2 separate regions of the Homo sapiens genome follow, and region 1 is linked to region 2. The links are contacts of gene promoters, found by promoter capture Hi-C in human tissues and cell types (Jung and others, 2019). All regions are on one chromosome and are shown on one strand. The core of a region is centred on a gene start or on the middle of the fragment in contact, and the rest is flanking DNA. Distances in the headings are between cores, read along the strand shown. Region 1 overlaps GNA15 (G protein subunit alpha 15). Region 2 holds the start of DIRAS1 (DIRAS family GTPase 1).

Region 1 (6,311 bases), core at 1,929-4,428, 440 kb before region 2:
AAAAGAAACGTTATGCAAATCTGTAGCTACAAGTGCCGCATGAAAGAAGGTCATTGTATTACAAAACTAAGCTGTGTGCTTTGGAAACATTGTTCAAAGCTCTGCTTTAAAAATTAAAGAGAAAGGCCAGGTGTGGTGGCTCACGCCTGTAATCCCAGCACTTTGAGGCCGAGGCGGGTGGATCACCTGAGGTCGGGAGTTCAAGTCCAGCCTGACCAACATGGAGAAACCCCGTCTCTACTAAAAACACAAAATTAGCCGGGGTGGTGGCTCATGCCTGCAATCCCAGCTACTCGGGAGGCTGAGGCAGGAGAATCCCTTGAACCCGGGAGGCGGAGGTTGCGGTGAGCCGAGATTGTGCCATTGCACTCCAGCCTGGGCAAAAAGAGCAAAACTCCATCTCAAAAAAAAAAAAAAAAAGAAAAGAAATTAAAGAAAAAATAGACTGGGCACGATGGCTCACGCCTGTAATCCCAGCACTTTGGGAGGCCGAGACAGGTGGATCATGAGGTCAGGAGATTGAGACCAACCTGGGTAACATGATGAAACCCCATCTCGACCAAAAATACAAAAAACTAGCCAGACGTTCTGGCGGGCACCTGTAATCCCAGCTACTCGGGAGGCTGAGGCAGCAGAATGGTGTGAACCCAGGAGGCAGAGCTTGCAGTGAGCTGAGATTGCGCCACTGCACTCCAGCCTGGGCAGCAGAGCGAGACTCCGTCTCAAAAAACAAACAAAAAAAAATTAAAGAAAAAATGGATTAAAGAAAAAGAAATTGCTATCCAATTAGGGATAGATGAGATCACTATGAAAGATTAGAAAAAGAAACGTTATGGCCAGATGCGGTGGCTCACGCCCGTAATCCCAGCACTTTGGGAGGCTGAGGTAGGTGGATCACTTGAGGTCAGTTCGAGACCAGCCTGACCAACATGGTGAAACCCCATCTCTACTAAAAATAGGACAGGAAACTACTAAAAATTAGCCAGGCTTGGTGGCACGTGCCTGTAATCACAGCTACTTGGGAGGCTAAGGCAGGAGAATCACTTGAACCGGGGAGTTGGAGGTTGCCATGAGCCAAGATCGCACCACTGTACTCCAGCCTGGGTGACAGAGTGAGACTCTGTCTCAAAAAGAAAAAATAGAAGAAAGAAAGAAAAGAAAAAGAATCATTCTTAAAACCTAGGCAGATTCTGGAAATAGTAGACAATCTTTCCAGAAGTGCTTTACAACAGTGACCTCTACATAGCAAACCCATGCTTGAAGGATCTTGGCTCAAACCCCAAATGTTGGCCAACAAGCATAAAATAAAATGTTTGGCCGGGCATGGTGGCTCCTGTCTATAATCCTAGCACTTTGGGAGGCTGAGGCGGGTGGATCAGGAGGTCAAGTGATCGAGACTATCCTGGTCAACATGGTGAAATCCCGTCTTTTCGTACTAAAAACACAAAAATTAGCTGGGCGTGGTGGCGCGCACCTGTAGTTCCAGCTACTAGGGAGGCTGAGGTAGGAGAATCGCTTGAACTCTGGAGGGAAAGGTTGCAGTGAGCCGAGATCACGCCACTGCACTCCAGCCTGGTGACAGAGCAAGACTCTGTCTCAAAAATAAATAAATAAATAAAATGTTTAAGGTGTACGTGATATGCTACGTGTTTTTAGAATTCCTCACTTTACTCAGTTCCAAGGGCCTCTGCTATTTTATTCCATTCCACAGAAGGGAAAACAGATTCAATGAGGTCGGGCAGTGGATGGAGCTGAGTCTAGAACGCGGGTCTGATCCTATGTGAAAGTTCCGGTGACTCCAGGCTGAAGTAGAGTCTGGATTAGCATCTCTCTTCGGAGCTGCTTTTGGGAGTTGAAGGGTATAGAAAGTTCTAGAATTACTTACCCTGGAAACTGGGGAAATAGGTAGCCAGGTGGGAGGTGGGGATTTTCTCCTCCAGGATGTCGGTTTTGTTGAGAAAGAGGATGACGGATGTGCTTTTGAACCAGGGTAGTTCCAGGATAGTCCCAAACAATGCGAGGCTCTCCTTCATGCGGTTCTGTGTTGGGGGCAGAAGCAGGTTAGTGCTTCAACCAGCCAGGTGGGACAGGAAACCCTCCCATCGCGGAGACGGGGCTGTTGGCTCCAGGGGCATGGGCTCACCCCTATCTGCCTGGCTGGGGCTGAGGCGGGTGTGCCCGTGTTTCCATATGGACAGCTGCCTGGGTGTGCCTGACATGGTTTTGTGCCTGTGCTGGTTGGAAGTGTGTCCTCCCGAAATTCATGTCCCCCCAGAGCTTCAGAGTGTGACCTTATCTGGAGAGAGATTCTTGAACTCCTGGCCTCCCAGCGTGCTGGGGTTATAGGCATGAACCACTGCACCTGGCCTGGAGATAGGGTCTTTGAAGAGGTCGTTAAGGTGAGGCAATACTAGAATACGGTGGCCCTCAAGTCCGTGACTGCTGTCCTCATAAGAAGAGGGAGACCTGGCCGGGCGCGGCAGCTCACGGCTGTAATCCTAGCACTTTGGGAGGCCAAGGCGGGCAGATCACCTGAGGCCAGGAGTTGGAGACCAGCCTGGCTAACATGGTGAAACCCCGTTTCTACTAAAAATACAAAAAATTAGCCGGGCATGATGGCAGGTGCCTGTAAACCCAGCTACTCGGGAGGCTGAGGCAGGAAAATCGCTTGAACCCGGGAGGCGGAGGTTGCAGTGAGCTGAGATCGCGCCACTGCACTCTAACCTGGGCGACAAAAGCGAGACTCCATCTCAAAAAAAAAAGTACAATAAGGTCTCAAATGCCTTGTGTTATGGGGTACATCATATTTCCCCAAAATTCATACGTTCAAGACCTAACCCCCTAGAACCTCAGTTTGTGACCTTCTTTGGAAACAGGGCCATCACACGAGGAATTAACCCAGATGAGGTCGTACTGGAGTAGGGTGGGCCCTGATCCTAGACGACTGGTGTACTTATTAAAAGAGGCTATTGGCTGGGCACAGTGGCTCACGCCTGTAATCCCAGCACTTTGGGAGGCCGAGGCGGGCGGATCACGAGGTCAGGAGATTGAGACCATCCTGGCTAACATGGTGAAACCCCCTCTCTTCTAAGAATACAAAAAAAAAATTAGCCGAGCGTGGTGGCGGGTGCCTGTAATCCCACCTACTCCGGAGGCTGAGGCAGGAGAATGGTGTGAACCCGGGAGGCGGAGTTTCCAGTGAGCCGAGATCGCGCCACTGCACTCCAGCCTGTGCGTGTGCGTGCATGTGTGTGTGCACGCATGTGTGTGCCTGTGTGCCTGTGTGTGCGTGTGTGTGCCTGTGTGTGCGTGTGCATGTGTGTACTGTGTGTGTGCATGTGTGTGTTCATGTGTGTGCGCATGTGTACATATGCGTGTATTGTGCACGTGAGTGCATGCAAGTGTGCATGTGTGTGGTGCATGTGTGTTCGTGTGCATGTGTTGTGCATGTGCACTGCGTGTGTACATGTGTCCCGTGTGTGCACGTGTGTATGTGCATGTATTATGCACGTGTCTGTGCGTGTTTGTGTGCATGCATTGTGTATGTGCGTGTGTGCACTGTAGTGTGTGTGTGTGTGTGTGTGTGTGTGTGTGTGTGTGTGTCTGGGGTCCTGACCAAACAAATGCTGTAGGTCTGTGTCTTGGGTTGCTGCAATCTGACCACAAAAGGCTGAAGGGTCAAGTTCATAGCCATGCTGGGCACACACAGGCCCGTTCAAGAGCAGGGATCCCTCCCTTTCTGCACCAGAGCTTCCTGCTCAGGTGAGGGTCCCTGGGCCAACAAGTGGGCAGGGCGAGGGAGGCGGTGGCGCACCTCCTGGTTGTTCTCCTCCAGGCACTGGTCGTATTCACTCAGTGAGGCCAGGTAGATGAGGGCGATCACGTTCTCGAAACAATGGATCCATTTCTTACGCTCTGACTTCTGGCCCCCGACGTCCACGATCCTACAGGGAACCGAGGTGCCCCCTTTCAGAGCTCAGGAGCCTGCTCCGTGACACCCCCAACCCCCATCACGTCTGGGATATGCCAAGATCCATAATAGCGACAGCAAGAATAGGTGCTAGCCTCTCGTGGATTTGCCATGTCATTCCCGCGAGGCAAGGATGAGTCTTACGCCCATTTTACAGATGAGAAGCCTGAGATCCAGGGAGGAGCGGGGACTTTCCCAAGCTTCTACTGTGCTGGGCTGCCTGCTTTCTACCCCCATATTAGAGGGGAGCAGGTTGGACAGATCTGAGATGTGCCCTGGTGCTGGCTGGGCGACCCGGCGGAGGAAATTGCCAAACATCTCCAAAACTCAGTTTTCCCATCTGTGCTATGGGGCTCCTGTGCTCTGGCTGGCCATGGGCATGTCCAGTGGCCACACAGATGGGAATGAGGGCTGTTCCCAGAGCACACGTCCTCCCCTCCATCTGTGACTCAGCCCCACGCACCGTAACAAAAGCCTGAACCCTGCCCCCACCTTCCTGTTCTCTCTCTTCTGAGAAATGTGGGTCGCTGATAACCATCTGTGCGTCATTTCCCTGGGGATGCAACCGTTACTCAGGAAGTCCCAGAACAGAGGCTTTGGACGGGCCCGGCCCAGGGCCTCAAGCAAGAAGGGACTTGCCCCATTGCACAGGAGGGGAAACCGGGACTGATGATGAAGCAGTTAGGCTGCAGCTGCTGGATGTGTCTCCTGATCCCTGAGACCCACTCCTCCCATGCATCCTCAGAGTCCCTCAAACCCCACATCCAGAGCCAGACAGGGTAAGCAGCCGTCGAGAGGGGGCTCTGGAGACTGAGACGGGAGTGGGATCAGCAACTGACCAGTTGGGAACTGTGGGCATCACCTCTCATCTCGGGTCTCAGTGTCCTCTGAGCCCTCACTCCATTCATTCGTCTCACTCCTGGGCCACACCTAAAAATCACTTCCTTGGCCCAGACTTCCCCATGATTTCCCAGCCTCTACCTTCACTCCTAAACTTTTATCCACCCACCCACCCCATTCATCGATTTATTCACTCATCCATCCACCCATCCACCCACCCACTCATCCATCCACCCATCCAGCCATTCACTCATCCATCCATCTATCCATCTACCCATCTATCCATCCATCCATCATCCATCCACCCACCCATCCATCCACCCATCCAGCCATTCACTCATCCATCCATCTATCCATCTACCCATCTATCCATCCATCCATCATCCATCCACCTGTCCACCCATTTACGAAATCCACCCACCGACCCACCCATCCATCTCTCCATTTACTCATCCATCCATCCATCCACCCATCTGTCCACCCATTACCCAGCTACCCATCCATCCATCTACCCATCTATCCACTCACTCATCCACCCATGTACCCATCCACCCACCCTCCCACCCATCCACTCATCCATTCATCCACTCACCCATCCACCCATTCATCCATTCATCCGTCACCCACCACCCATCTACCCATTCATTCATCCATCCATCCACTCATCCACCCATCCATCCACCCATTCATCCATCCATCCATCACCCACCACCCATCTACCCATTCATTCATCCATCCATCCACTCATCCACCCATCCATCCACCCATTCATCCATCCATCCATCCATCCATCCCACCCATCCATCCATCTATCCATCCACCCATCCATCTATTCATTCACTCATCCATCCATCTATCCGTCTATCCATCTACCCATCTATTCATCCATCCATCATCCACCTGCCTGTCCACCCATTTACTCAATCCACCCATCCATCCATCGCTTCATCTACTCATCTATCCATCCACCCATCTGTTCACCCATTATCCATCTACTCATACATCCATCTACCCATCTATCCACTCACTCGTCCACCCATCTACCCATCCACCCACCCACACCCCCATCCACTCATCCATTCATCCATCCATTCACCCACTCATCCATCCATCCTTCACTCACCCATTCACCCATTTATTCATTCATTCATCCATCACCTGCCACCCATCTACCCATTCATTCATCCATCCATCCACTCATCCACCCATCCATCCATGCATTCACCCACCCATTCATCCATCCATTCATCCATCCCACCCACCCATCCATCTATCCACTCATCCATCCATCCTTCACTCACCAATCCACCCACCCATCCATTCACCCATCACCCTTCCACCCATCTACCCATTAATTCATCCATCCACTCATTCACCCATCCATCCACCCATTCATCCACCCATCTATCCATCTATCCACTCATCCACCCACTCATCCATTCATGTATCACCCATCCACCCATCTAACCATCCATCCATCCATCCATCCACTCATCCCTCT
Region 2 (6,985 bases), core at 2,592-5,091:
CAATCTCGGCTCACTGCAAGCTCCGCTTCCCGGGTTCACGCCATTCTCCTGCCTCAGCCTCCCGAGTAGCTGGGACTACAGGCGCCCGCCACCGCGCCCGGCTAATTTTTTGTATTTTTAGTAGAGACGGGGTTTCACCTTGTTAGCCAGGATGGTCTCGAGAATTTTTTTTTTTTTTAAGTCAGAGTCTTGCTCTGTTGCCCAGGCTGGAGTACAGTGGTGTGATCTCAGCTCACTGCAACCTCCGCCTCCCAAGTTCAAGTGATTATCCTGCCTCAGCCTCCCAAGTAGCTGGGATTACAGGTGCATGTCACCACATTGGGCTCATTTTTTATAATTTTAGTAGAGACGGGGTTTTACCATGTTGGCCAGGCTGGTCTTGAACTCCTGACCTCGTGTGATCCACCCACCTCAGCCTCCCAAAGTGCAGGGATTACAGGCATGAGCCATCGTGCCCGGCCGAGAAAAATTTTTTAAAATTAGCCGGGCCTGGTGGTGTGTGCCTGTAGTCCCAGCTACTCAGGCGGCTGAGGAGGAAGGATTGCTCGAGCCCAGAAAGTCAAGGCTGCAGTGATCTGCGACCTCACCACGCACTCCAGCTTAGGTGGCGGAGTGAGACCCTGTCTCGATAGATAGATAGATAAGTAGATGATTAATAGATAATAGATGAACAGGTGACAGATGATTGATAGATAATAGGTAAATGATTAATAAATGATGATTGATAGATTAATTGATAGATGACAGATAGATGATTGATAGATGATAGATAGATAGGTGGTAGATTGATTGACTGATTGATTGACAGATGCTAAACTTGAAAAGCAACTGTGTGGCTGAGCCCCTGGGGTGACTCTGCCCCCTGAGGCCAGGATGTGCAACCTCGGCTTTGCCCACATGGTCCAGAGACCACTGAAGAGAGCTGAGGCCGGACCCCACTGCCCTCCTCTCCAAAGGCTAGCCGGGGCTCAGTGAGGCCCACGTGGCCCTGGTCAGGGCAGCAGGGTGAGGAGAGCGGTCGTGGAGCTGCAGGGCCGGGGGAGGAGCTGGACATTGCAGATGAACGCCGTCCCTTGCTGTTCTGCTGAAAGGAGATCTGTAAGGCAGGACCGGCCGAGTGTCCCCAGGACAAGACTGCAGATAGCCAGGGACAGGGCAAGAGGATCACAAGGGGGTGGCCGTCTATCCCCAGCAGGCTGGGCTATGGCTTCAGAGCCTGATGGATCCGGACCGACCTCTTTCCCACTAGGCCACCGTGGGCGAGCCGCTTCCCTTCTCTGAGCAGCAGTTTCCAGATGGGAGCAGGGACAGTGGCCTTGTACAGACTGCTGAGGGCCCAGCACCCACTACACTGGCACTTTGTGTTTGCAGGACCCATGCAGACTGCCCCGGTGGGTTTCACCCTGGGGACTCAACGTGGACGCCTGTGGATCCTGCCCAGCTCGCGAGCTGGAGAGGTTGACAGGTCCTCTTCTCTTTGGCAAAGATGCAGCCGGCCTCAGTCCTCCTCGCCCACCTCTGTGCCTCTCAGGATGCCGAGGGACTCTCCAAAGAGGGACTCGGGTATGAGAGGCAGCAGGGAACCCAGGAAACTCCAGTGCCAGCCCCGGCTTGCTCAGTGCCCCAGTGTGCAAGTGCCCTGGCCCCTGAGATTTGGATCACGGACCTTTCCATGGAGAGGCAGAGCTGGGGCGCCCACCCACCCCCACTCACAAAGGCCAGGCGGAACCCTCTGCTCCCCGGCCCACCATGGGGGAGAAGCTCCTGCTGTCCTAGTTTGGGTGCTCGGAAGAGCTCACTGCCATCTGTGGCCTGGGCACCGCGGGCCATGTGTGGAGACCCCGTTCCTCAGGGACAGCGAGGAGGGGAACAGGGCCTGGCCTCGCCGGCTCACGCGGCCCACAGCCTGGCCTGGGAGCTATAAATAGCAGCCGCAGCGTGGAGTTACCGCCCTGCCCACTCTCCTACGCATGAGTCAGCCTGCCCCGGCCTGAGCTGGTGCCCGGAGGAGACAGGGAGCCGGCCCGACGCCCTGCCCCACGCTGGTGGGTCACTCAGGAGACGAAGGCAGGCAGGCGGACTGGGAAGGGGCAGGGCTGCCGTCTGAGTGCTTGGGTGCCCAGCAGCCCCGTGTAGGTGGGCGCCCTGCCCATGTGTTCCCAGCAACCCTACAGGCGGGCAACAGTGACGTCACTCACAGATGGGGGAACCGATGCTTGAGAAGGCACTTCCCTGCAGGCAGCCATGTAGAGCAGAAGCTGGGATTTGTCTGCCCTCAGGGCTGTCTCCATCTCCTGCTGAGGGCACCCCCAGATGAGGGTCAGGGGCCGGGCCATGCTCTGAGGTGCTCCCGCAGGGCTGGGGTCAGGGTGGGAGGGAGGTGCACGCCAGGAGCACTCAGGCCGGGCCATGGATGCCAGGCTGAGAAGCTGGACCTTGGCCTGGGAGAAGGGAGCCATGGGTGGCGTTAGAGCAGGGGAGGCCCATGTTGCAGTTGGAGCATTGAGTGGCAGAGTGGAAGGAGGGCTGGAGGAAGGGGTCTGGAGGCCAGGAGGGGGAGTGGGGTCAAATCAGGGAGAAATAGAGCTCCTTGAGCCCCAAAGCCGCTTGAACCTCAGTGCCCCAGCCTCAGTGGCAACAGGAGAGGGGACTGAGTGGTCTTGGAGGCAGTGCCAAGTCTCCGCAGAGGCAGATGGGCCCACCTCATCCAGGGCCATGGAAATGGTGGGTCATGGAGAACCCCAGGAGCTGAGGGCCCAAGGGGTTCACCTGCTCACAGGCCTGGTGATGGGGAGCTCACCACCTTCCAGACCAGCCTCTCACCCACTGATGGCTCTGACTCTGGAGAGACCCCTGTGGGTCCCAGAGTTGGCCTCTCCACCAAGGGGCGCCTTCCTCTGACAGCCTTGCGGCCTGGGACTGTCCCGCACCCACCCCTGAGAGCACCTTCTGGCCTGGTCACTAGACCCCAAAGTCCAGTCTCCTCTGGGATCTGCCCGATGAGGCCAAAAGGAACCTCGGCCTCCCGGTCTCCAAAATGGAGGCGGAACCATGGTCTCTTGTGGACACACAGACGCATCAGAAAAGCCAGTGCTCCCCTAAGACACCTCCTGTTGGGGGAACACAAACATTTTCCTAACCGAAAACGGCAAACCCATCCGCTGCAGAGCAGCGCCAGCCCCCTTTGCTCACCCCCCACCTCCCTAGGCCTGACTGCCATGGGCTGCCTCCGCCTCCACAAAACCAGCCCTACAGAGCGCTGAGTCCGCTTCTGCCCCCATCCCGCCCCTGCCCAGGCCCCTGGGATGGGTGGGCCTCCAGGTGCACCCCATTGACCTGAACCCTCCCGCCTCTGCCCGCTTCTAAACCTGTTCATTGATTGTTGATTATCGACTTACTCATTTCACAACGCACCCCTCTGATTCCCCGCCCTGCGTGTGACCGGGCCCCAGCCGGCCTCAGGGGTCCCGTTCTGCACCCCCTTTATCCGCATTTCTGCCAAAGCCCTCCACCCCCGGCTGGACTCTGCTCCTCCCAAGCCGGGCTCCTGGCCCCCACTCGGGGTTCCCCGGGAAGCGGCCCCAGCTCCCACCCCGAGGGAGGGCGCGCGCAGGTGGCTACGTGGCAGGGCGGGGGTCCCGGATCCTGGCGACCTCTCCCACCCCGGGCGCGGGCAGGGGTCCCGCGTGGGGCGGCGGTGACCTTGGCCGGGCGGCGCGCCGGCCCCGTGGGCGCGGGTCCCCGGGGCGGGGCGGGGCGGGGCGGGGCGGGGCGGAGCGCGGGGCCCGGCGGGCGGGGACGGCGCGGGCGCGACTGCGGCGGCTCGGGCGGGCGGGGGGCGGCGGCGCCAGCGGACACCGGAGCGGGCAGGAGCAGCGGCCGCGGCGCCGCAGGGACCAGCGGGCCCAGGTAGGCGGCCCGGGGCGGGGAGGGGGTCCCTGCGCAGCCCCCAGCCGGCCGTCCTCCCCGCCGCGCGTCCCTCCTTTGTCCCGGCCCCAGCCTCCCGGGCCTTGGGGCCGGGCCCTTCCCCGCGTGGCTCCGGGGCCCCTCGCCGGGCGTCCCCCGTCCCTTCCCGCCGGGCCCGGCCGGCCCCTCCGCGCTCACCTTGGACAGCTCCCGGCCGCCTCCCCTCCCCCACCCGGAGGGCGCCCCCCTGCCGAGCCCGCCCCACCGAGGCCCACCCCGCCGCCCCTCTCCGCATTGGTCCCCTCGGGCAGGGCCTCCTCCCTCCTGCAGCCGCCTTCTTCGCCCTCCGCCCCGCTGCCCAGCCAAGCCCCTCCCTCCGCGCCCCCTCCCCGGGGTGGGCTCCTCCTCTCCACCACTGAGGTCCTCCTGAGTCAAGGGTCGCCCCTGGGCTGGCCCCGCACTGTGCCTCTGCGCCCTCGGGCCCCCTAGAGCAGGCCCTTTCTCCATCAAACCCCTCACCGGCCAGGCGGCCCTGGGTCAGACCCCCGCCCCACCCTTGGTCAGGCGTGACCCCCGCTAGACCCCTGGGTCGCGGCTCTCTCTGCTTTCCTGACCCTGAGCTTTGCTTTGACACCCCCGCCCCCACCAACCACGCCGTGCCCGGCCGGGAGCCGGGCTTCAGGGACCCAGGGCTGGGGTAGATTGGCCCTGCCTGGACGTCTGGGGGTGGGCTGCCCCGCACAGGCGGGAAACCCCAGGAGTCTAGCCAAGCAGGGTGGGCTTCCAGCCCCGCTGTGCGCCTCCACCCCCCTGCTCTGTGACCTTGAGCCAGCCCCTCCTGCTCCTGCCTCGGTGCCCACGACCCCCTCCCTCCACCCGCACCCCCCAGGCGGTGGAGGTGGGAAGTGGCGTGGGCTTCGGGGCTGTTGAGTGCAAGCGCCTTTCTGGTCAGGGATTCCAGACCCAGCGGGGAGGACAGTACTGCTCATGGGGGCTGGAGCTTCAGTGCCCGCAGCAAGGCAAAGGCTGGATCTGGGTCCACAGAACCCATGGCCATTAGGACCCCAGGCCGGTCTTGGTGGCGTCTTTCTGCACAGCAGCGTGCCCGCCTCTCAGGGCGCCCACCCAGGAAAGGGCAGGGTCTGCAGCACAGGCCGCCTCCCCCCCACCACCAGCACCCCCAGCCTCCTCCGAATGCCGAGAAATTACTATGCATGTAGTCCACAAACCCGGCAGCCAATCACATGAGTTGGCATTGCCGAGGCGCCCAGAAGTTTGCCTGGCTCATCACAACTGGGGACTGTGTCAGCTGGCGCTTTCATCAGCCTCTTTTCTTTTCCTGGCAAATCTGTTACCCTTGATAATCCAGAAGGTGCCTTTGCAACCAACAGGCACAGCCAAGTGCCCTGCCCACCGGCCCCAAGCCCTTGTGACTGTGATCACAATTGTGATCGGGGTCTCCGCTGTACAGGGCACTGCCTAGGGCCTTTCTCCACCTTGTCACCTTACTTGCCCCAACAGTGGCTCGCATTTCACAGAAGAGAAAACGGAGGCTTAGGGACTTGAATTTGCCTGTTTAGGTTCAAACCACTGACCCCCGGGGAACCTCTGGACCCTCCCCATAAACACACCCCCACCCCCAGTGCAGCAGGTAGAAACTGGTTCCTCCTCCTCTCCCACTGTAGACCACCTTGCTGGGGAACACCCCTCCCCCACCCCCCACCGCTGCCCCAGAGCCTGGAAGGAGGAAGGGGAGGGGAGGACATCAATTCTGGAGATAAGCCACCCGCCCTCCCCCCAGCGTTCTTCCCCCACCTCCATCATTTCAGGATCTGCTGTGCTGTGTGACCTCCTCAGGCTGCTGGACCTCTCTGAGCCCAAGAAGGAAGAGAGGGGCTAAGAGGTGCCCCTCCCAGGAAGTGCTATTCTAAGGATCCTTCAGACCTGAACGGGAGGGGCTAGGGCACACCAGGCCATAGTTTGATTTTAGAGTTTAGGGAGTGGCGATTTTCCCGTTCAGCTTCTGGATTTTGTATTTTTGTGTCCCACCTGGGCTGCAAGACCCTTCCTCCCTGGGGCGGCTATTGGGAATCAGTGCCCTGATTTGCAAATTGTGGTTCTCAGATTCCCAGCCTCAGGATCCCATTTATGGCAGGTGAGGAGAGCAGCCCTGTAATACAAGTTCCAGCTGGATGCGGTGTCTCACACCTGGAATCCCAGCACTTTGGGAGCCCGAGGCGAGAGGAGCACCTGAGGTCAGGAGTTCAAGACCAGCCTGGCCAACATGGCGAAACCCCGTCTCTACTGAAAATACAAAAATTAGCCGGGTGTGGTGGTGCATGCCTGTAATCCCAGCTACTCTGGAGGCTGAGGCAGGAGAATTGCTTGAACCGAGGAGGCAGAGGTTGCAGTGAGCCGAGATTGCACCACTGAACTCCAACCTGGGCAACAGAGCAAGACTTGGTTTTAAAAAAAATAAGAAGGCCAGGTGCAGTGGCTCACGCCTGTAACCCCAGCACTTTGGGAGGCCGAGGTGGGTGGATCACCTGAGGTCAGGAGTTCAAGACCTGCCTGACCAACATGGAGAAACCCTGCCTCTACTAAAAATATAAAATTAGCCGGGCTTTGTGGTGCATGCCTGTAATCCTAGCTACTTGGGAGGCTGAGGCAAGAGAATAGCTTGAACCCGGGAGGTGGAGGTTGCGGCGAGCCAAGATTGTGCCATTGCACTCCAGCCTGGGCAGCAAGAGCGAAACTCTGTCTAAAAATAAATAAATAAATAAGAAGAATAAAATAAAATACGAGTTCCCAGGGCCGTTGCCCTGGCCGACCGATTCATCACACCTAGGGCTGCGGCCCTGACATATGCATCTTAAACACCCGACCATGTGCGGCTTCCATGAGGATTGGCCATCTCTGGGTTGGCGGAAGAGCAGGGGACCCATGGTTGTTGGAGACGGGCACCGTTTGAGCCACCAAACAGGCTCAGGGTGGCATGATGGCTCGGCAAGGTCTCAGAGCCAGGCAGGTGTGGAGCGAGAGGTGGAAGCCAGGCCTGCTAGCTTCCAGGGGCCCCTGC

Evidence for each region. Contacts are between HindIII fragments. The study calls those that stand out against the background at their distance.
Region 1: a contact is called between a fragment that was not itself captured here and the fragment with the promoter of DIRAS1 in region 2, in 1 of the 25 tissues and cell types used here (dorsolateral prefrontal cortex).

The regions. Positions count from the first base shown.
Region 1 is chr19:3,153,456-3,159,766 of GRCh38, reverse strand. It overlaps GNA15 (G protein subunit alpha 15), which reads right to left. Exons shown (of 7, transcript NM_002068.4): 5 at 3,815-3,944; 6 at 1,886-2,039. It overlaps GNA15-DT (GNA15 divergent transcript), which reads left to right and starts at 4,592. Exons shown (of 4, transcript NR_110670.1): 1 at 4,592-4,749. RefSeq lists enhancers at 4,272-4,361, 4,402-4,731, 4,019-4,976. The HindIII fragment of the contact is 4,542 bases long and covers 908-5,449 here.
Region 2 is chr19:2,718,228-2,725,212 of GRCh38, reverse strand. DIRAS1 (DIRAS family GTPase 1) reads left to right here and starts at 3,841. Exons shown (of 2, transcript NM_145173.4): 1 at 3,841-3,909. RefSeq lists an enhancer at 724-1,636. The HindIII fragment of the contact is 24,571 bases long and covers 1-6,985 here.